4 separate regions of the Homo sapiens genome follow, and all the other regions are linked to region 1. The links are contacts of gene promoters, found by promoter capture Hi-C in blood cells and fetal thymus (Javierre and others, 2016). All regions are on one chromosome and are shown on one strand. Each heading gives the region's core, a stretch centred on a gene start or on the middle of the fragment in contact. The rest is flanking DNA. Distances are from core to core; before and after follow the strand shown. Region 1 holds the start of ADCY4 (adenylate cyclase 4). Region 2 overlaps NEDD8-MDP1 (NEDD8-MDP1 readthrough). Region 3 overlaps LOC101927045 (a long non-coding RNA gene). Region 4 overlaps NYNRIN (NYN domain and retroviral integrase containing).

The links. The method cuts DNA at HindIII sites, captures the fragments that hold promoters and counts their contacts. A CHiCAGO score of 5 or more calls a contact.
Region 2: a fragment that was not itself captured here is called in contact with the fragment with the promoter of ADCY4 in region 1 in 7 of 17 cell types (total CD8 T cells, naive CD8 T cells, naive CD4 T cells and 4 more); the score reaches 11.9 in total CD8 T cells.
Region 3: a contact is called between a fragment that was not itself captured here and the fragment with the promoter of ADCY4 in region 1, in 4 of 17 cell types (naive CD4 T cells, naive CD8 T cells, total B cells and 1 more). The highest score is 6.8, in naive CD4 T cells.
Region 4: a fragment that was not itself captured here is called in contact with the fragment with the promoter of ADCY4 in region 1 in 14 of 17 cell types (naive CD4 T cells, naive CD8 T cells, M1 macrophages and 11 more); the score reaches 12.2 in naive CD4 T cells.

The regions. Positions count from the first base shown.
Region 1 is chr14:24,333,060-24,338,162 of GRCh38, forward strand. It overlaps ADCY4 (adenylate cyclase 4), which reads right to left and starts at 2,012. Exons shown (of 25, transcript NM_001198568.2): 1 at 1,435-2,012. The coding sequence starts at 1,593. RIPK3 (receptor interacting serine/threonine kinase 3) reads right to left here. Exons shown (of 10, transcript NM_006871.4): 6 at 4,814-4,981; 7 at 4,636-4,703; 8 at 4,027-4,401; 9 at 3,826-3,886; 10 at 2,966-3,336. The coding sequence ends at 3,116. RefSeq lists silencers at 649-748, 1,409-1,568, 1,639-1,718, 4,553-4,742 and an enhancer at 4,384-4,678. The HindIII fragment of the contact is 4,552 bases long and covers 1-3,100 here.
Region 2 is chr14:24,219,571-24,224,673 of GRCh38, forward strand. All of the region lies in intron 1 of NEDD8-MDP1 (NEDD8-MDP1 readthrough), which reads right to left. The region is part of intron 1 of NEDD8 (NEDD8 ubiquitin like modifier); the gene reads right to left. Among named protein-coding and RNA genes, the nearest start is that of MDP1, 6.1 kb to the left of the region's middle. The HindIII fragment of the contact is 1,322 bases long and covers 1,504-2,825 here.
Region 3 is chr14:24,445,841-24,450,943 of GRCh38, forward strand. The region is part of intron 2 of LOC101927045 (a long non-coding RNA gene); the gene reads left to right. Among named protein-coding and RNA genes, the nearest start is that of SDR39U1, 5.6 kb to the left of the region's middle. The HindIII fragment of the contact is 4,219 bases long and covers 1-4,093 here.
Region 4 is chr14:24,407,202-24,412,304 of GRCh38, forward strand. It overlaps NYNRIN (NYN domain and retroviral integrase containing), which reads left to right. Exons shown (of 9, transcript NM_025081.3): 3 at 668-1,326; 4 at 1,451-3,007; 5 at 3,875-4,005; 6 at 4,153-4,249. Among named protein-coding and RNA genes, the nearest start is that of NYNRIN, 11 kb to the left of the region's middle. The HindIII fragment of the contact is 3,953 bases long and covers 94-4,046 here.

The DNA of each region.
Region 1 (5,103 bases), core at 762-3,261:
AGCCCAGCCCCTCAGCCCAGTTCTGAAAGGTGTCTCAAGCCTAAGTACGAAAAGGAGGCAAGGCACCTCCGCTTGCCATTCACTTTAGGTTGAACCATTTGAAATTGCTTGTGTCCTACTGCTTTTATCTAGACTCAGCAGTCTCGTATGGTTTTTGTTGGTTGGTTGGTTTGTTTTTTGAGACAGAGTCTTGCTCTGTCGCCCAGGCTGGAGTTCAGTGGCGCGATCTCGGCTTACTGCAACCTCTGCCTCCCGGGTTCAAGTGATTCTCATGCCTCAGCCTCCCGAGTAGCTGGGATTACAGGCTCCCGCCACCACGCCCAGCTAATTTTTTTTTTTTTGTATTTTTAGTAGAAGACAGGGTCTCGCCAAGTTGCCCAGGCTGGTCTCGAGCTCCTGGGCTCAAACGATCTCCCGCCTTGGCCTCCCAAAGTGCTGGGATTACAGGCGTGAGCCACAGCGCCCAGCCTCCTGTTGTCCAACCTATTATCTTGCTGGGACAGCTACCCAGAAGATCTGGCTCCCATCCCCTATTTGTTTCTGAGCCTCAGTTTTCTTATCTGTCAAACGGGAACCAAAGCGTCATGAAGCAAGTGAAAGATAGATCCAAGCTCACAAGGAGGCACTTCGGAATGAATGTCTCCAAATCTGGCCAATTTGCTCGGGAGATTCCCGGAGCCGGGGACCGCGGCCGGCAGCTTGAAGGGCGGCGCGAGGCAGCGCTCGAGCAGCAGGGGGCGCCAGGACCCGCGGCGTCCCGCACCTCCCTGGCCACCAGGGCTGCGATCTCGCCACCTGCCTCAACTCCAAGCAGAAGCTGCACAGCCGTCCCAGCATTTTGTCCCCACCTCTTCCCGGATTTAGGCGTGGACCAGCAAGGATTGGCCGCGCCCGGTGATTTTCCCACCTTGCCTCCAAGCAGTGAAAAGAAAACCAGGGGCAGGCCATTTCTAGAATTGGATTGAAGACCTTCTTCCTCCCCAAACAGAAACTGGACATGGGTTTACTTTGGGACTCAGTGAGAGCCCGGTGGAGGGTGCCTTCTGGGAGTCTGTGGGTACAACTGCTCTACATCCCCTAAGAGGGAGAGAAAGGCAGGAAATGAATTCCCCAGGGGCCTCCTAGAATTTCCCCTTTGGAAAACTGGAAAATCCGGTGATGGATTTATTGTAGAACCCGTAGACCACGGATGTTCATAAAGTCTGTCAGAACCCGGACAGAAACGAGAAGCATCCAGGACTCAGCTTTCTCCCTGAGCAGACCCAGAAGGGTAGAGTGACTTGCCCAGGGTCACTGCAGTTCCTAGCCAGGCTCAATGGTCCTTTCTTTCTCTGCTCCCAGCAACGAAAACACATCGAAAAGAAGACCCCACAAACCCCAACCCCGAAAATGCTCCCCAGGTAGAGACCCTCCCGCAGCAGAGGCTCGGCTCACCCTGCCGCTGGCCCAGGCCACTGCGAGCAGCGCCGCGAGCGCACAGAGCACGATCCCCAGCAGCAGCAGCAGCAGCGGGTACTGCTGGCTCAGGCTGTAGTAGGTCTCGTAGAAGAGGTCTTCGCTGGGGGGCGGCCGGGGGCTGAAGAGGCGGGCCATGATCTCCCCAGCCCCGAGCCCCGGGGCTGGCTAGGGCCGGGCGCCGGGTTACCTCCTTCGGCCCGGCGGGCCCCACCTGAGCTTTTCTCACCCGCTCAAAGCCGCTACCACCCCGCGCCCCCAACCTCGTGGCAATCCCGTCTCCTTTTTCAGGCCCTCCCTGCGGCCTCCCAGCCCGCTCCCAGCTGGCGATGAGGGGATCCCTCAGTCCTTTCCTCCTCCTCCCTCAAACCCGGATTGTAGAGGTGCCCTAGAAAAGCCTCATCGCCAGGAGGGCAGGATTTGGGGTTGGTGCGAGGGAGCCCCGGGTTCCCCTGATCCCCGAACTCACTGCCCGCGGCGCTGGCGCAGCGGAGTGGGCTAGGTCCGGGGAGGGAGCCGGGGACCTGATGGCGGAGTCACGCTCGCCGCTGCGCTCTGGCTCAGAGTCCCGGGCGACAGGCGCTTCCCTCCCGGCGCCGCGGCCCCCTCCCACTTCCCCGACGGGACAGCCCGGCCCCTTCCTGTGCCAAAGCCGGACTCCCCTGGTCTCCTCCCGCACTTGGTTTTGTCTCTCCTAACACCATCGCCTCCCCGCTTCAGCCCCTTCAGGGAAGGGCAATGTGGACCCTGGGAGAGATGCGAAGGGGTGGGCTGGGGTGGACCCAATGGGATGTGTCCAAATGGAGGTGAACGTTTGGTAGTGGGGAGACCGAGGGCGGGGGGCTGAAGCCTGGCGAGAATGTAGGGAAGAATGTGGGTCCTGGTGGGGATCTAGGTCAGAGTTGGGGGCGCTCATTCTCTTGACCTCTCCGCTTGGCTGGCAACCACTACCACCGGGTTTGAACTGTTCATGCTCCGTGGGAGGGGTTGCGCCTGTGTATAGCTTTAGGAGCCATAGCTTTCCACTCCCGAACAGCAACTGGGAATCAAAAGGGAAGCAATGTCCAGGAAGCAACCTGAGTGTGTGGTGGAGGCAGGTATGTGGCGTCATGATCTCTAAGAGCCTGGGGGCACCGTGCGGGGCCAGGTCTGTGATCTTTCACATCAACTCATCCCTCGCCAGAGCCCTGCAAGTGAGTCTTGAGAGCCCGGAAGAAAAGGGACCACAGCCTCTATCCCCAGAGTTTAGGGTTAGGGTGGGGTCGCCATCCTAGGCTTTAGAGGAAGCACTGCCCTGAGATTAGAGAGTGGTCTGGGGAACCAGGCCTCTAGGATTCCTTCCTGTTGTAGCCGGCTGTGCCCTGACCTTGTGTGCCAGGCCATTGCCCACTCCCAGCCCCCAGCATCCCCACTTCCTGCCATAGCAGAGCTGTGGTGCCTCCCTATCCCTCACTGGCAGCTCCCACCCCCATCCCAGTCCCTCCCTGCCCCTGGCTGAGCTCAGACTGACTAGCATTCCATCATGTTTATTGACTCCTGGGGGACAGGTCACAAAGTCAGTTTGTGGGCAGGCCAGACTGCCCTAGAAGGAAGTCAGGGGCCTCAAGGGGTGGCACTCTTCCTTAACTCGTAACTCTTGGAGGCAAGCTTGGAAGGTGCTTTATTTCCCGCTATGATTATACCAACCCTGTGGCCTGCTCCAGGCTTCAGGATCTTTAGGGCCTTCTTGCGAACCTACTGGTGGGGGGTGCTGCAAGCCCCTCCCCTTGCCCGAAGGTGCCAAGCCCCATGTGGGCAAGGCAGTTGTCTGTTGCATAGTCAAGTAGTTGTTGTCTCCAACTTGCACCCCAGAGCAGTTGTATATGTTAACGAGCGGTCGCCCTTTAAGAGAAATAGTGATGGTGGCAGGAGGGTTTAGCTGTCAGAAAGGCCAAGTTGGGGGTGGGTGGGGAGTATGAAGTCTCTACTTGTCAGTGGCTGTGTCAAGGTGTGCCCTGTGCTCCTCCCCTCAGAGCTCCTCTCCAGAATTGTGTTAGCAGAAGCTCTAGAGAGTGGCAATTGACATTTGAGACCCTGATCTTTTTTGCTGGGAGGTCCTCTGGACTGCTGAAACAATGGAACTTAGGGGGCTCACAGAGCTGGTGTTGTGGAAAGTTAGAAGATTCAGGGACAAATCCAAGCTTTGTTGTGTGACCTCAGAGGGCTCCTTTCTCAGGGGGTGTCGGTTTTCCCATTTATGAAATGAGAAGGTTGAGTTAGATCATCTTCTCCCCTCCCCTCCACAAAGTACCCTGAATCTAGATATAGGTCTGGAGGAGGAGTCTGGTGGAAGAATTGAACAGGGAAAAGAAAGAGGTAGAGAATGGGTACCTGTTACTGGATTTGGCTCCGGGGTCCTGCAGGACCAGTTCATGCCTTGTCTCTCAGCCCCCTGCAAACAGCACAGAGCATCCAGTTCTGCCCTGGAGCCTGGCACTCCCACTGCACTCCTCTCAGCCCCAAGTTTTCGCTGGCAAGGGGACAGCATTTATAGGACTCTTAGTGCATCCCCTAATCCTGTCAATGTCTCACCTGATTCCCTCGGGGTCCAGGACTTGGTGTTCCAGTTGAGGTAGGGCTGGGCATCTGGTTTCTGAAAGTTGAGGTCTCTGGAGTCTGGGGAGGTTGGGCCATCGAATCTGAAGATGTGCCTGCTGTCCAGGCTTGTGGAACCTGCTCCTCTTGTGCCCTGCTCCTCTTGGTAAGGCTCGGGCATTTTTTAGGAACAGAGCTGGGAGGCTCCTCTAGATTCAGTTTGTTTAGCCACTCAGAAACCATGACATCATTACGAGAGTGCTGGTTTTCTATGGTTCTCCTAAAGCCATCCATTTCTGTCCCTCCTTGGCCTGACTCTGGGATAGAAAATCTCCTATTGCTGCTCCTGAGCTGAGACAGGAAATCCTTTACCTGCAGGGATGGGAGGAGTTTGCTGGGTATGACTTGGATGAGCCAGAGTAAACCCAAGGGAGTAGTCTCTCGGTCCATAATCTGTTGTCTGGGAACTCAGGGGTGGGCTGGGGACGGTGGGTACAAAGGTCAAGGCATAAAAAGCAGTGGTCAGTGGTGAGTCATTGGATGGCCAGGTAGCCACGCTGTGCCATCCCTGACCAGCTCCTGGGGAGGGGTGATGTTGGCACTCACCGTGGAGACAGCAGCATTCATATTGTTCTCCACCATCTGGAAGACTTCATCAGTTTTTGGTAGGCATTCTAGAGGGACAGCAGAGTGGAGTGCAGGTGAGCAAATCTTCTTTTCCTGAGAAAAGCCCCCTGCTGACAGACCCAAGCTTATCCTAGATCCAGCTAACTGGCCAGCTCACCCTGGAAGGAGGGTCTGTCCTTGGGCTCACTGCTCCAGCAGAGCTGCATTAGCTCCTTCAGTCCTTCTAAGCCGGGAGTCTCAGGCCCGGCTTGGGGCAGCTCAGCCAATGAAGGCCGGTTCTGCCTGTTGCACACTGCTTCGTACACGAGTGATGGTTCGGTTGGCACTGGAGTAGGGGAGGAGGGTGAGAAGAGAAGGCATTCAGGGTAAAAGGGAATTATCTGCTTCATCATGGAAAGAGGCAGGGAGTGTAATGTGGGGGCACGAGGAGGGAGGAGGGCAGTCTAA
Region 2 (5,103 bases), core at 915-3,414, 110 kb before region 1:
CTACCTAAATCCTAAATTGCAGCTCTTGTCTTCTTCCGTAAGTTAAGGGCTGGTGATATCCAAATACAATAATTATACTGATTATGCAGTCATAAATGTTGTGTCTTCTCCCATCTGTCCTTGCTCTTAATAGCTCTATCTGTATTAGTCTACAGTGATCCAGGCCACAAACACACCATGCTCATTCTAATTTATGGGCATTTCTTTGCTTCCGTTATTTTCCTTGTTGCAATATCCTCCCCTTCTTCTCCAAACTTCAAGACCCCTTAAATGTAAGATCTCCTCCTGGCCGGGCACAGTGGCTCATGCCTGTAATCCCAGCACTTTGGGAAGCTGAGGTGGGTGGATTACCTGAGGTTGGGAGTTCAAGACCAGCCTGGCCAACATGGAGAAAGCCTTCTCTATTAAAAAATACAAAATTAGCCAGGCGTGGTGGCGCATGCCTGTAATCCCAACTACTCAGGAGGCTGAGGCAGGAGAATCTCTTGAACCCAGGAGGCAGAAGTTGCGGTGAGCTGAGATTGTGCCATTGCACTCCAGCAATGTATAAAACCTCCTGTATGATGTGTAGACCTGTTCCCAGTGTACTTTATTAATACTTCCAATATTAATATACCAATTACAGCTAGTTGTTTAAGTGTTAAACTTTCCTAGTGTTTGACACACAAGCAGTCAATGAATATTTTTGAAGGGCTAAATATACTGATGATCATATTATAATCACAGCTAACATTTACTGAAAACTATTTTTTTCCTTTTATTTTTTTAAGAGACAGGGTCTCACTGTATCAAGCAGGCTGGAGTTCAGTGGTGTGATCCTGGCTCACTGCAGCCTTGACCTCCTGGGTTCAAACAACCCTCCCACCTCAGCCTCCTAAGTAGCAAGGACTACAGGGTGTGTGCACCACCACACTCAGCTATTTTTAAGATTTTTTTGTAGAGACGAGTTCTGTGTTGCTCAGGCTGGTTTCAAACTCATGGGCTCAAGTGATCCTCCTGCCTCGGCCTCCCAAAGAGCTGGGATTACAGGCATGAGCCACCTTGCCCAGCCATTGAACACTTTCTAAGGGTCAGTAACTATGATCAGCATCTTACATGCATCACATTTAATCCTCCCAGTATTTATGAGATATGGACTATTACTATTTCCATTTTATAGATGAGAAAAATAAGCCTTAGGTTAAAAACACATCTACGCAATCAAAAGTAGAGATTGGATCCAGATTCCCTGGTCCCAGAGCCTGTGCTTTTATTTCTGTACTCCGTCCTACCTGAGTCTGGCTGGTCTAGTATTGGGACCCAATGTACACTCCTATAGTAGCTCACAAAATAACATATGGTTTCTCCTTATGGTATTCACATAGAACAGCACGAAACAAGAACTCAGAAAATTTCCCAACAAGGAGAATGATTTAGTACTAGTATGTTTCCAAAAATACAAGAACAATTCCTTTGGATTAACCTGTTTGGATATGAAAGAATAAATTACAGCAGTGATTCTCAAGCTTCTACCCTAACCTATGCTGGTCTGTGTGAAAATTTTCAGCAGCCTATGGTAAAATGAGAAAAGCAGTGTTAAAAGTGAAATTTTCATGAAACTAAATATATTCAGGTGTTAATGTCCTTTCAGAGAATGGTGGTGACAATTTGTGGTAACTTTAAAAAGACAAAATAAAAAGTTTGTAATTCTGTGTTGTCCACAAATTATTTCACTTTCTTTTTTTTTTTTTTTGAGACGGGGTCTCAGTCTCACCCGGATGGAGTGCAATGGTGCAATCATGGCTCACCGCAGCCTCGACATACTGGGCTCAGGTGATCCCCACCTCAGCCTCTTGAGTAGCTGGCATCACAGGCGGGCACCACCACGCCTGACTACATTTTGTATTTTTAGTAGAGATGGGGTTTTGCCATGTTGCCCAGGCTGGTCTCGAACTCCTGACCTCAAGTGATCCACCTGCCTCAGCCTCCCATAGTGCTGGGATTATAGGCATGAGCCACCGTGCCTGGCCGATAATACAAATTTTTATTTATTTATTTATTTTGAGATGGAGTTTTACTCTTGCTGCCCAGGCTGGAGTGCAACGGCACAATCTCAGCTCACCCTGCAACCTCTGCCTCCCAGGTTCAAGCAATTCTCCTATCTCAGCCTCCCAAGTAGCTGGGACTACAGGCATGCACCACCACACCTGGCTAATTTTGTATTTTTAGTAGAGAAGGGTTTCTCCATATTGGTCAGGCTGGTCTTGAACTCCCGACCTCAGGTGATCTGCCTGCCTCGGCCTCCCAAAGTGCTGGGATTATAGATGTGGGCCACCGCACCCGACCACAAATTTTTAAAGAGTGAAAAAAGACTCTCAGAGAAGACCTAGAGCTGCTCTCCCAAGAGCAAAATGCTTGGACCTTATATTTTTAAAAAGGATTATTGGTTTGTAAATTCTAAAAGTCTAGAGCTGGCCCTTTGTTTCTGAAATCGACTGTAGAGGCCCATAAATATATCTAGAGAGCAATTTGGCAATATGGTGTCCCAGCAACAATACTTCCAGGAAAATACTCATGACTATGTCCAAAAGTATACCTACAACAATGGTTATTGCAACCTTTTGATACTGTAAAATTAGAAACACAATCTAAATATCAAACAGTTGAGGGTTAAATAAATTATGGTACAATCATAGAAAAAAAATTACAAATCCCTCAAACAATGTTTAGGATAACTATTTGTAATATATTAACAATATGCTGATAATTTAACAAAAAAGTTATAGTATATAGAGTATAATTAAAATTTTGTAAAAACAACACATGCATCTATATGCTCTCCAAAAAGCTTGGAAGGGTATATACAGTATATTAATGCTTTAACTTGAGCAGTGGAATTATGGGTGATTTTAATTACATTATTATGCTTTTCTGTATTTTCCATTTTTTATACCACAAATGTGAATATGCTGTAATGAGAACAAATTATTTAAAAAACAATGTCCTTGATAAGGGTAAGATTTTGTAAAGCAGCACTGCCTTGTAGAAATATAATACAAGCCATACATGCAATTTTTAAATTTACTAGTAGCCATATTGTAAAAGTTCTTTAAGAGGTAAAATTTTAATATTTTTAAACCCAACATAGCCAAAATATTATTCACATGTAATCAATATAAAAATTAATATATTTTATGTTTTTTCTAACCAAATCCTAAAAATCCTGTATTTCATATTTACATCACATGTAGAGATGGGGCTGGGTGCGGTGGCTCACACCTGTAATCCTAGCACTTTAGGAGGCCGAGGGGGCGGATCACGAGGTCAGGAGTTTGAGACCAGCCTGGCCAACACAGTGAAACCCCATCTCTACTAAAAATACAAAGATTAGTTGGGCATGGTGGTGGGCGCCTGTAGTCCCAGCTACTGGGGAGGCTGAGGCAGGAGAATCGCCTGAACCCAGGAGGCGGAGGTTACGGTGAGCTGAGATCATGCCACTGCACTCCAGCCTGGGCAACAGAGCAAGACTGCATTTCAAAAAAAAAAAAAAAAAAAAAAATAGAGATGGTAGGCTGGGCATGGTAGCATATGCCTGTAATCTCAACACTTTGGGAAGGGGATGTGGGAGTACTGCTTGAGGCTTGGAGTTTTGAGACCAGCCTGGGCAACATAGTGAGATCCCCATCTCTACAATAAAATTAGCCAGGCATAGTGGCACAGGCCTGTAGTCCCAGCAACTGGGTACTCAGAAGGCTGAGGCAAGACTGCCCAAGCCCAGGAGTTCAATGCCGTAGTGGGCTGATTGTGCCACTGCACTCCAGCTTGGGTGACAGAGGGAGACCCTATCTCCAAAAAAAACCCAGAAAAACAAAAAAATTCAAATGGTAAATTTTCATCTGAAATACTTGACATATATTTAAGTTTCATAATTTACAATAGAAAAAGTAGATTTATACACCCAACTTGTTCTAAACATACTTAAAAGTTTTTTATATTTATTTATTTATTTATTTATTTGAGATGGAGTCTTGCTCTGTGTCCCAGCCTGGAACACAGTGGAGTAATCATGGCTCACTGCAGCCTCCAACTCCTGGGCTGAAAGTATCATCCCACCTCAGCATTCTGAATAGCTGGGACTACAAGCACACACCACCATGCCTGGCTAATTCTTTTTTGGAAAAAAAAAAAAATTTTTTTTTTTTTTGAGGCAAGGTCTCAGTCTGTCACCCAGACTGGAGTGCTGTGGCATCATCTGGCTCACCACAACCTCCGCCTCCCAGGCTCAAGCAATTCTCCTGCCTCAGCCTCCCAAGTAGCTGGGGTTACAGCCGCGTGTCACTACGCCTGGCTAATTTTTGTATTTTGTATTTTTTATTATTTTTATTTTTATTTTTTTGAGACAGAGTCTCGCTCTGTCGCCCAGGCTGGAGTGCAGTAGCACGATCTCGGCTCACTGCAAGCTCCACCTCCCGGGTTCACGCCATTCTCCTGCCTCAGCCTCCAGAGTAGCTGGGACTACAGGCGCCCGCCACTACGCCCAGGCTAATTTTTTGTATTTTTTAGTAGAGACGGGTTTTCACTGTGTTAGCCAGGATGGTCTCGATCTCCTGACCTTGTGATCCGCCCGCCTCGGCCTCCCAGAGTGCTGGGATTACAGGCGTGAGCCACCGCGCCCAGCCAATTTTTGTATTTTTAGTAGAGATGGGGTTTCACCATGTTGGCCATGCTGGTCTCGAACTCCTGACCTCAAATGATCCACCCGCCTCGGCCTCCCAAAGTGTTGGGATTACAGGCATGAGCCACCATGCCCGGCCTGAAAATTGTTTTGTAGAGATGGGGTCTCGAAATGTTGTCCAGGCTGGTCTCAAACTTCTGGCCTCAAGTGATCTTCCCACCTCAGCCTCCTAACTCACTGGGATTACAGGTGTGAGCCACTGTACCCGGCTAAGTTTCAGTTTTTAAATTTAATTAAAATCAAGTACAATCAAAATTTCAAATCTTCAGTCTCTCTAGTTACATTTCAAGTGCTCAATAGCCAAATGTGGCTAATGGCTACCATTTTGGACACTGTTCAAATATTCCAGCTAATATATGAAGCAACAAGAATATTAGAGTACCTCCAGC
Region 3 (5,103 bases), core at 734-3,233, 110 kb after region 1:
ACTTCTTTTTGTTTCTTAATCTTAAGAAATTCTGTCAAGGGCACCCAGTTTTCTTCAGTTAATAATGTAAAAAGGACTGTATTGATGTGGTTAAGTCTCCAGGACCCTCAGTTCTTTAGGGTGTACTAAATGGCTGGTGTCATTTCTTACGAAAGTGTCTTGAAGTTGGTGGAACTTATGTTGAGAAATAAAGTTTATATTTTATATTTTTTAATCTTTTAATTGATTTTTCCACAACATTTTGAAATTTCCTCATATTTCCCTCTGTCTCTGCCATCACAATCGTCTTATGAGTTATTCTGTCTTGTGTAAATATCTGCAGTAGTCTCCTAGTAGGTCTTCCTGCTTTTGCATGTTTCTCCTCTCCAAACTATTTCACACATTGCAAGCTGAGTGATCTTTGAAAACCATATGAGGGGAACATTATAGTGGCACGTATAGTTTAAAAAACTCCCAGTTTAAAATTCCTGGATATGCTGGATAAAATTAAACATACCTCCATTTAAATGTATTGCCAAGTTAGCTAGAAAAATAAAAAAATCCCAGAAGCCAAAAAATGAAATGTGTCTTGGGACTGAGGTTATGACAAAGATTATTTGCTTGGCCAAACTTTAGTCAGGCTTCTGAACCTTCTAGGCTCATTTGTACACCTCTTTGTAAAATCCAGTTTTCGCAAAGAGCCTTGCTAAGTCAGTTTAGCAAGAACCCCCTCAACCCTTGATATCTGATCACTCTCAATCTCTGATCAGGCCCCTCATCCTTCATCCCCTAGGTGATGTCTGATCACCTTGGCCTATCTTCACATGAATCCCGTTAGTTTGGGTTAGCCAGAATCCCTCTTACCCTTGATATTTTTCTCTTACTAATTTTTCATCCACTGACCCCCACCGTATTCGTTGGCTATAAATTCCCACTTGCCCATGTTGTTTCATACTTGACCCCAATCTCTCCCACTGCAAGACCACATTGTAGTGGTACCTGTACCTATTGTGATGGAAAGTCTTCCTTACCTTACTCTATCAAGTGTCACTGAATAATTTTCTTTAACAGGTATTTTGTGACTTTTAGTTTCAGTAACCCAGAGGCTTGGGTGACAGGAGACCATGCCTGAGATCGAAGCAAATTTGGGACTGAGACCCCTGGATAAAGCCCTTGGGCTGTGTTCTCAGATAAAAAGTAAACTTTAAAAGTCCACCTGGTATCAAAGAACATGGCCTGGAAACTTGTTTCTCTAGGCTTTGCTCTTGTCTAGGATTGGTTGTCAAAAAAATTACCGTTCTTTGAGAAGTTGTATCTATTGTCCTGTCCGCCTGCATATTTGTGGTTTGAATTAATTGTTACCTACTTGGCCTAGAAAGCTCTAACCCAAGAATTTAAATTAAGTGTTCCAGATAGAAGACATAAATCTTCCCTTGGTTTGGTTTCACAGGATTTCAATAGATAAAATCCTGCCAAGCATAAACATACAATACAAAATTACAAAACACACAAGGAAACAAAGCACTCTGAGGGTGTCAAATAAAATCAAACCAAACCGAAACAGAAAACAGCAGATTTAGACAAAGATTTAAAGTGTTAGAATTTAGAGGTATAGAATATAAAATTACCAAAGTTTAAAACGTTTAAGAAAGAGAAGAAATTAAAAACATGAGAAAGAGACAAGATGCTATCAAAAAATACCAGCAGAATTGATAAAAGAACCAACCTGAACTTTGAAAAATTAAAATTTTTTTAATTCAAAAAATTTTTTATTGTACTTTAAGTTCTAGGGTACATGTGCACAATGTGCAGGTTTGTTACATATGTATACATGTGCCATGTTGGTGTGCTGCATCCATTAACTCATCATTTACATTAGGTATTCCTCCTAATGCTATCCCTCCCCCCACACCCACCCCACAATAGGCCCCGGTGTGTGATGTTCCCCACCCTGTGTCCAAGCATTCTTATTGTTCAGTTCCCACCTATGAGTGAGAACATGCAGTGTTTGGTTTTTTGTCCTTGCGAGAATTTGCTCAGAATGATGGTTTCCAGCTTCATCCATGTCCCTACAATGGATCATCCTTTTTAATGGATGCATAGTATTCCATGGTGTATATGTGCCACATTTTCTTAATCCAGTCTATCATTGATTGACATTTGGGTTGGTTCCAAGTTTCTGCTATTGTGAATAGTGCCACAGTAAACATACATGTGCACGTGTCTTTATAGTAGCATGATTTATAATCCTTTGGGTATATACCCAGTAATGGGATTGCTGGGTCAAATGGTATTTCTAGTTCTAGATCCTTGAGGAATCACCACACTCCCTTCCACACTAGTTTCCACTCCCACCAACAGTGTAAAAGTGTTCCTATTTCTCCACATCCTCTCCAGCACCTGTTGTTTCCTGACTTTTTAATGATTGCCATTCTAACCGGTGTGAGATGGTATCTCATTGTGGTTTTGATTTGCATTTCTCTGATGGCCAGTGATAATGAGCATTTTTTCATGTGTCTGTTGGCTGCATAAATGTCTTCTTTTGAGAAGTGTCTGTTCATATCCTTCACCCACTTTTTGATGGGGTTGTTTGATTTTTTCTTGTGAATTTGTTTGAGTTCATTGTAGATTCTGGATATCAGCCCTTTGTCAGATGGGTGGATTGCAAAAAATTTTCTCCCATTCTGTAGGTTGCCTGTTCCCTCTCATAGTAGTTTCTTTTGCTGTGCAGAAGCTGTTTAGTTTAATTAGATCCCATTTGTCTATTTTGGCTTTTTTTGCCATTGCTTTTGGTGTTTTAGACATGAAGTCCTTGCCCATGCCTATGTCCTGAATGGTATTGCCTAGGTTTTCTTCTAGGGTTTTTATGGTTTTAGGTCTAACATTTAAGTCTTTAATCCATCTTGAATTAATTTTTATATAAGGTGTAAGGAAGGGATCCAGTTTCAGCTTTCTACATATGGCTAGCCAGTTTTCCCAGCACCATTTATTAAATAGGGAATCCTTTCCCTGTTTCTTGTTTTTGTGAGGTTTGTCAAAGATCAGATGGTGGTAGATGTGTGGTATTATTTCTGAGGGCTCTGTTCTGTTCCATTGGTCTATCTCTCTGTTTTGGTACCAGTACGCTGCTGTTTTGGTTACTGTAGCCTTGTAGTATAGTTTGAAGTCAGGTAGCATGATGCCTCCAGCTTTGTTCTTTTGGCTTAGGATTGTCTTGGCAATGCGGCCTCTTTTTTGGTTCCATATGAGCCTTAAAGTAGTTTTTTCCAATTCTGTGAAGAAAGTCATTGGCAGCTCGATGGGGATGGCATTAAATCTGTAAATTACCTTGGGCAGTATGGCCATTTCGATGATATTCATTCTTCCTATCCATGAGCATGGAATGTTCTTCCATTTGTTTGTGTCCCCTTTTATGTCATTGAGCAGTGGTTTGTAGTTCTCCTTGAAGAGGTCCTTCACATCCCTTGTGAGTTGTATTCCTAGGTATTTTATTCTCTTTGAAGCAATTGTGAATGGGAGTTCACTCATGATTTGGCTCTCTCTTTGTCTGTTATTGGTGTTTAGGAATGCTTGTGATTTTTGCACATTGATTTTGTATCCTGAGACTGTTGAAGTTGCTTATCAGCTTAAGGAGATTTTGGGCTGAGACGGTGGGGTTTTCTAAATATACAATCATGTCATCTGCAAACAGGGACAATTTGACTTCCTCTTTTCCTAATTGAATATCTCTTTATTTATTTCTCCTGCCTGATTACCCTGGCCAGAACTTCCAACACTATGTTGAATAGGAGTGGTGAGAGAGGGCATCCCTGTCTTGTACCAGTTTTCAAAGGGAATGCTTCCAGTTTTTGCCCATTCAGTTTGATATTGGCTGTGGGTTTGTCATAAATAGCTCTTATTATTTTGAGATACATCCCATCAATACCTAGTTTATTGAAAGTTTTTTGGCATGTAGGGCTGCTGAATTTTGTCTAAGGCCTTATCTGCATCTATTGAGATAATCATGTGGTTTTTGTCTTTGGTTCTGTTTATATGATGGATTACGTTTATTGATTTGTGTATGTTGAACCAGACTTGCATCCCAGGGATGAAGCCAACTTGATCGTGGTGGATAAGCTTTTTGATGTGGTTTGCCAGTATTTTATTGAGGATTTTTGCATTGATGTTCATCAGGGATATTGGTCTAAAATTCTATTTTGTTGTTGTCTCTGCCCGGCTTTGGTATCAGGATGATTCTGGCCTCATAAAATGAGTTAGAGAGGATTCTGTCTTTTTCTATTGATTGGAATAGTTTCAGAAGGAATGGTACCAGCTCCTCTTTGTACCTCTGGTAGAATTTGGCTTTGAATCCGTCTGGTCCCGGACTTTTTTTGGTTGGTAGGCTATTAATTATTGCCTCAATTTCAGAGCCTGTTATTGGTCTATTCAGGGATTCAACTTCTTCCTGGTTTAGTCTTGGGAGGGTGTATGTGTCCAGGAATTTATCCATTTCTTCTAGATTTTCTTTTCTTCTTTCTTTCTTTCTTTTTTTTTTTTTTTGAGACGGAGTCTCACTCTGTCACCCAGGCTAGAGTACTAGAGTGCAGTGGCACTATCTCAGCTCACTGCAAGCTCTGCCTCCCAGGTTCATGCCATTCTCCTGCCTCAGCCTCCTGAGTAGCTGGGACTACAGGTGCCCGCCACTATGCCCGGCTAATTTTTTTGTACTTTTATTAGAGACTGGGTTTCACCATGTTAGCCAGGATGGTCTCGATCTCCTGACCTTGTGATCCACCTACCTCAGCCTCCCAAAGTGCTGGGATTACAGGCGTAAGCCACCGCGCCCGGCCTAGATTTTCTAGTTTATTTGTGTAGAGGTGTTTATAGTATTCTCTGATGGTAGTTTGTATTTCTGTGGGATCAGTGGTGATATCCCCTTTATCATTTTTTATTGCATCTATTTGATTCTTCTCTCTTTTCTTCTTTATTAGTCTTGCTAGCGGTCTGCCTATTTTGTTGCTCTTATTGAAAAAAGCAGCTCCTGGATTCATTGATTTTTTGAAGGATTTTTTGTGTCTCTATCTCCTTCAGTTCTGCTCTGATCTTAGTTATTTCTTGCCTTCTGCTAGCTTTTGAATGGGTTTG
Region 4 (5,103 bases), core at 820-3,319, 74 kb after region 1:
TTGGGCAAGCTGCATAGCTCTTCTCAGCCTGCAAAATGGGAACAGGCTGTGCCAGGTGTCATCCTCAGTACTTTCTGCGTATTAATTCACTGAAGCTTCAGAGTGGCCCAATGAGGCAGGAACTATTACTGTTCCCATTTTACAGAGGAGGAACTGCAGGCACGGGGGCAGGCGTGTTGTGTGATTAATAACTTGCCACAGGTTGCATAGTTCCTAGCTTATGGAGGGTGCCCAGTAGTGTGCAGCCACTTTCTCCCCAGCTGTCACACAATTCAGGAATGCCAGACTGGGACTAGACCTCAGGAGCATCCAGTTTAACCTTTCTTTTTCTTGGTGAAGAGACTGCGGTGCTGAGAAGGTGATAGATGCCCCACAATTAACCTAATCAGTTGAGGTCGAGTTGGAGCTGCAACCTGGGTTCTTTCCCTCCTCTCTCCCAGGCTTCCCTGTTCTGTTGGTGTTCCCTGGAAAGAAATGGGTGTGTGAGGGTGCAGGACCAGGGAGAGAGTGGCTGGCCATGGGGGAGTCATTTGGCTCATGGTGGATGGGGGGTGGTAGTGGTGGGGCCACATGGTTAGTGAGGGGCTGGCCTTTTGGGTGGCGAGGGCAGATCCAGGGGCAGGCCCCCAACGGGCTGACTTCATTGTGTTCTCCCCATTGTGCCCAGGAATACCTGAAGGGCCTGTGCAGCCCAGAGCTGTGGAAAGAGGTTCGCTACCCACCGATCCTGCACTGTGCCTTCCTTGGGGCCCAAGGCCTCTTCCTGGACTGCCTCTGCTGGAGCACCCTTGCCTACCTGGTGCCTGGCCCCCCTGGCTCCCTGATGGTGGGCGGGCTGACTGAGTCTTTCATCATGACACAGAACTGGCTGGAGGAGCTGGTGGGGCGACTGCGCTGGGGCCCTGCCCCTCTGCTGACCCCCCGGGGGATCTGGGAGGCTGAGGTGACCCGGGCCTTTGGGGCCCTGGTCTGGATCCGTGGTGACCAGCATGCAGGGGACCTACTGCAGCTGCCCCCAGCGGTCCAGGAGCTGCTGCTGAGCCTGGTGCGGGATGCTGCGGGCAAGGAAGACATCATCGAGTGGCTCAGCCGCTTCGGCATCTCTGACTCCCACTCCGATCCGGAGGTTCTAATCTGCCCTCCCCAGCAGCAGAAGGAAGCCCCAGCCATGGTGTCCGTGGGAGAGAGTCCTGGACCCTTTGTGGACATGGGGACCCTCCAGAACAGGGGCCCAGAAAATTCAAAGAGATTATCTAGCCTGGGAGCCACTGGGTCCCTGATCACAGCCCAGAGCACACCGCAGGAGGCAGCAAACCAGCTGGTACGGTAAGTTCTGGAGAATGAGCCTGGCTTCTCTGATCCTACCCCTGCTCCCCTACCCTAAGGAAATAGTAATAGTTTGGGACCAAACTGGCCTTCCACCTTTTCAATGAACTTGGGCTTCCTCCAGGGTCGGTTCCAACAACCAAGATGGTATGGACAGTGCTCAAGAGGAAGGGACAGTGCAAGCCACCAGCAGCCAGGACTCCACGAACCACACACAAGCCTTGTTGAAGCAAAGGCAGGTCCAGAAGATAGAAGATAAACTCCTCTTCCAACCTCCAGTATCAGCCCTGGGTGTGTGCCCACCCTGGAAGGCCTGGACCCCGGGGCCAGCCTTTGGGCCATTGTGGCCGGGGGCTATTGCTGCAACCTTCTGGAGGATCAATGAGCTGCATTCTCTACATCTGGCCTGGCTCCTGTCCCAGGCGTGCTTCAATTTCCCCTTCTGGCAGAGACCTCTGGGCCCCATTCAGTTGAAGCTGCCAGGGCAGAATCCTTTGCCCTTAAATCTGGAGTGGAAGCAGAAGGAGCTGGCTCCTCTGCCTAGTGCAGAAAGCCCAGCTGGTAGACCAGATGGGGGGCTGGGAGGAGAAGCAGCCCTGCAGAATTGCCCAAGGCCAGAGATTTCCCCAAAAGTTACGAGTTTATTGGTGGTCCCTGGGAGCTCAGATGTAAAAGACAAAGTTAGCTCGGATCTCCCACAGATAGGGCCACCCTTGACCTCTACACCCCAACTACAGGCTGGAGGTGAGCCGGGGGATCAAGGGAGTATGCAGTTAGATTTTAAGGGACTGGAAGAGGGACCCGCTCCAGTGCTGCCAACAGGGCAAGGGAAGCCCGTGGCTCAAGGGGGGCTGACAGATCAGTCAGTACCTGGAGCTCAAACAGTGCCTGAAACTCTCAAAGTGCCCATGGCTGCAGCAGTGCCCAAAGCTGAAAATCCCTCCAGAACTCAAGTGCCATCTGCAGCTCCCAAACTGCCTACATCTCGAATGATGCTGGCAGTGCACACAGAGCCTGCAGCTCCCGAAGTGCCTTTGGCTCCAACAAAGCCAACAGCTCAACTGATGGCCACAGCTCAAAAAACAGTTGTGAATCAACCAGTGTTGGTAGCTCAAGTGGAACCCACAACTCCAAAAACTCCCCAGGCTCAGAAGATGCCTGTAGCAAAAACATCACCTGCAGGTCCCAAAACACCCAAAGCTCAAGCCGGGCCTGCAGCTACAGTTTCCAAAGCACCTGCAGCTTCCAAAGCACCTGCAGCTCCCAAAGTACCTGTGACCCCCAGAGTCTCCAGAGCTCCCAAAACACCTGCAGCTCAGAAGGTGCCCACGGATGCAGGGCCAACCTTGGATGTAGCCAGACTTCTGAGTGAGGTCCAGCCTACATCAAGGGCTAGTGTCTCCTTACTGAAGGGCCAGGGGCAGGCTGGAAGGCAGGGTCCCCAGTCCAGTGGCACCTTGGCCCTCAGCAGTAAGCACCAGTTTCAGATGGAGGGGCTCCTGGGGGCTTGGGAGGGGGCCCCAAGGCAGCCACCTCGCCACCTGCAAGCGAACAGCACAGTGACCAGCTTCCAGAGGTACCACGAGGCCCTGAATACACCCTTCGAGCTGAACCTGTCAGGGGAACCTGGAAACCAGGGGTTGCGGCGAGTGGTCATCGATGGCAGCAGTGTGGCCATGGTGTGAGTAGTCACGGGCGTGGGGTGGGCTGGGGATGCTGTGGACCTGGGGCAGGGCATCCCTGGGGGACAGAATGTGGGCATCCCTTCCCAACCTTCCTATGGGCGACATGGGGAAGAGATGGGAGGGAAGTGGTCCATCCATGTTGAATGGCTCCTGCGTGCCAGGCAGTGTGCATGGAATCCTCATAGCAGCCCTCAAGGGCAGGTTTCTGGTTTCCCTGTCTGATAGATGCTGAAGCAGGCTCAGAGGTGGGAAATCTTGCCCAAGATCCCTGAGCCAGCAAGGGGTCCAGCTGGCCTTTTGGCTCAGATGTGTCCACTGCCAAGGTCCATGCCCTTCCCAGGCCAGCTTTTAAACTTTTAGCCCAAACTTCAAGGCCCAGCACAGATTTCTTTTCCTGACTCTGCTGGCCCTTAGCGATTGCCCTTCCTCCACAGTACTTACTGCTGTAGAGGTGTTAGCATAAACATGTGCATGCCACATAATTTGCCACATGATAGAGTAGTTATCTGTGCAGAGCACACTCCCAGCACACTGTCGGTGGCCAGGGAATTTTTGTTTGCTTTAAGCCCTCAACTGAGCTCTCTGAGTGGAGGGGCTGCCTTCTTCCTCTTGCCCTCAATGTCCCTACACACATGCGTACACACAGGTACATGCACACACACACACACATGCACGCGCACACACACAGAGTTTCTGGCAGTGCCCTGCACCAAGTAGGTGCTCACAGAATGTCTGAGTATGGAGGGAAGGGGAGAGGGCATCATTGGTGTCCTTGGTGCTGGCATTGCTTGCTTGCTGCCCCAGGGCTGGCTCTGAGGGAGGAGTGGTGAGGCAGGGTCTTTCCTTGTCCCACGACCCCACAGGCATGGCCTGCAGCACTTCTTCTCCTGCCGAGGAATTGCCATGGCAGTGCAGTTTTTCTGGAACCGGGGACACCGAGAGGTCACTGTGTTTGTACCCACCTGGCAGCTGAAGAAGAACCGGAGGGTGAGAGGTGAGGTGTCCCCTGCCTGCCCAGCCTCCACAGTGTCACCAAGCTTTCTTCTCTCTGCCTTGCTGCCCCGACCCTCTGCCACCCCAGAGTGGCCATTTCCACTTAGCCCTCCCTTGACCATTTCTGTCTTCTGCCTTTCACCCCCAGAGAGCCACTTTCTGACGAAGCTACACTCGCTCAAGATGCTTTCAATCACACCCTCCCAGCTTGAGAATGGCAAGAAGATCACCACCTACGATTATAGGTGTGCCGGTCCCCAGGCCTGCCCTCCTGGGCTCAGGGAGTTGGGCCTGGCTGGTGTGTCAGGTGGAGTCCGGCCTGTCTTCTCTGGGGAAATGGAGGCAAACATGTTGGGGGTGTCGGTTGTGCAGAGGGTGGGGTGGAGCACGGGCATCTGTCAGCAGAGGGATGGGCACATTGAGGAAAGGGCTTGAGGTTGGCTCTCCCCAAGCCCGGAGTTGTTTCTGACTTTGGGACTCTGGAGTCCGTCTGCCTTAGCTAACAGGCATTCTTCCCCCATGACCTGTGAACATCAGAGAGGTTCCCCAGGGTTTTGGGTGCCCGTTTCGGTTGAGGCTCATGTCTCCAGACTGCTTTAGTCTTTTCCTCCCTCGGAGCCCCGGCACTGGTGGAGGTCTGTGCATGGCTGATGTGGATGGAGCCCTGGGCAGGGCTCTGGAAAAGGAGAGCCCTGAATGCCTAAACCCTGAATGCTTGCCTGCTTGTCAATCCTAAGCGCCCACCCCTCAGCATGGCTGCAGGACCTCTGTGCTCAGGGGAAGCCTGTGACCCTGCCTCTCTTAGGGCAGGGAAGGCCCTGGCATAGTCACTGGTCCTGGGTTGGAGTTGATGCTGGGCGGACAGAGATCTTGGTTTCACATAGGCAACTCTCATGCCAGGCAGGGAGAAGTTCTGTTTCTCCACACTCTTCCCAAGACCTGGCACCCAACCAGGCCTGGGAAGGGCTGGGCAGAGAACCTCACTCATCCCTCCTTGTAGAGCTGGTCCCCTCCATTGAGTCTTCAAGTGCCTTTAAGTTCAGGCGTGGGTTTGATGGAAGATGGCTTTTCCGCAGACCGTCCCTCTGCTGGGCACTTG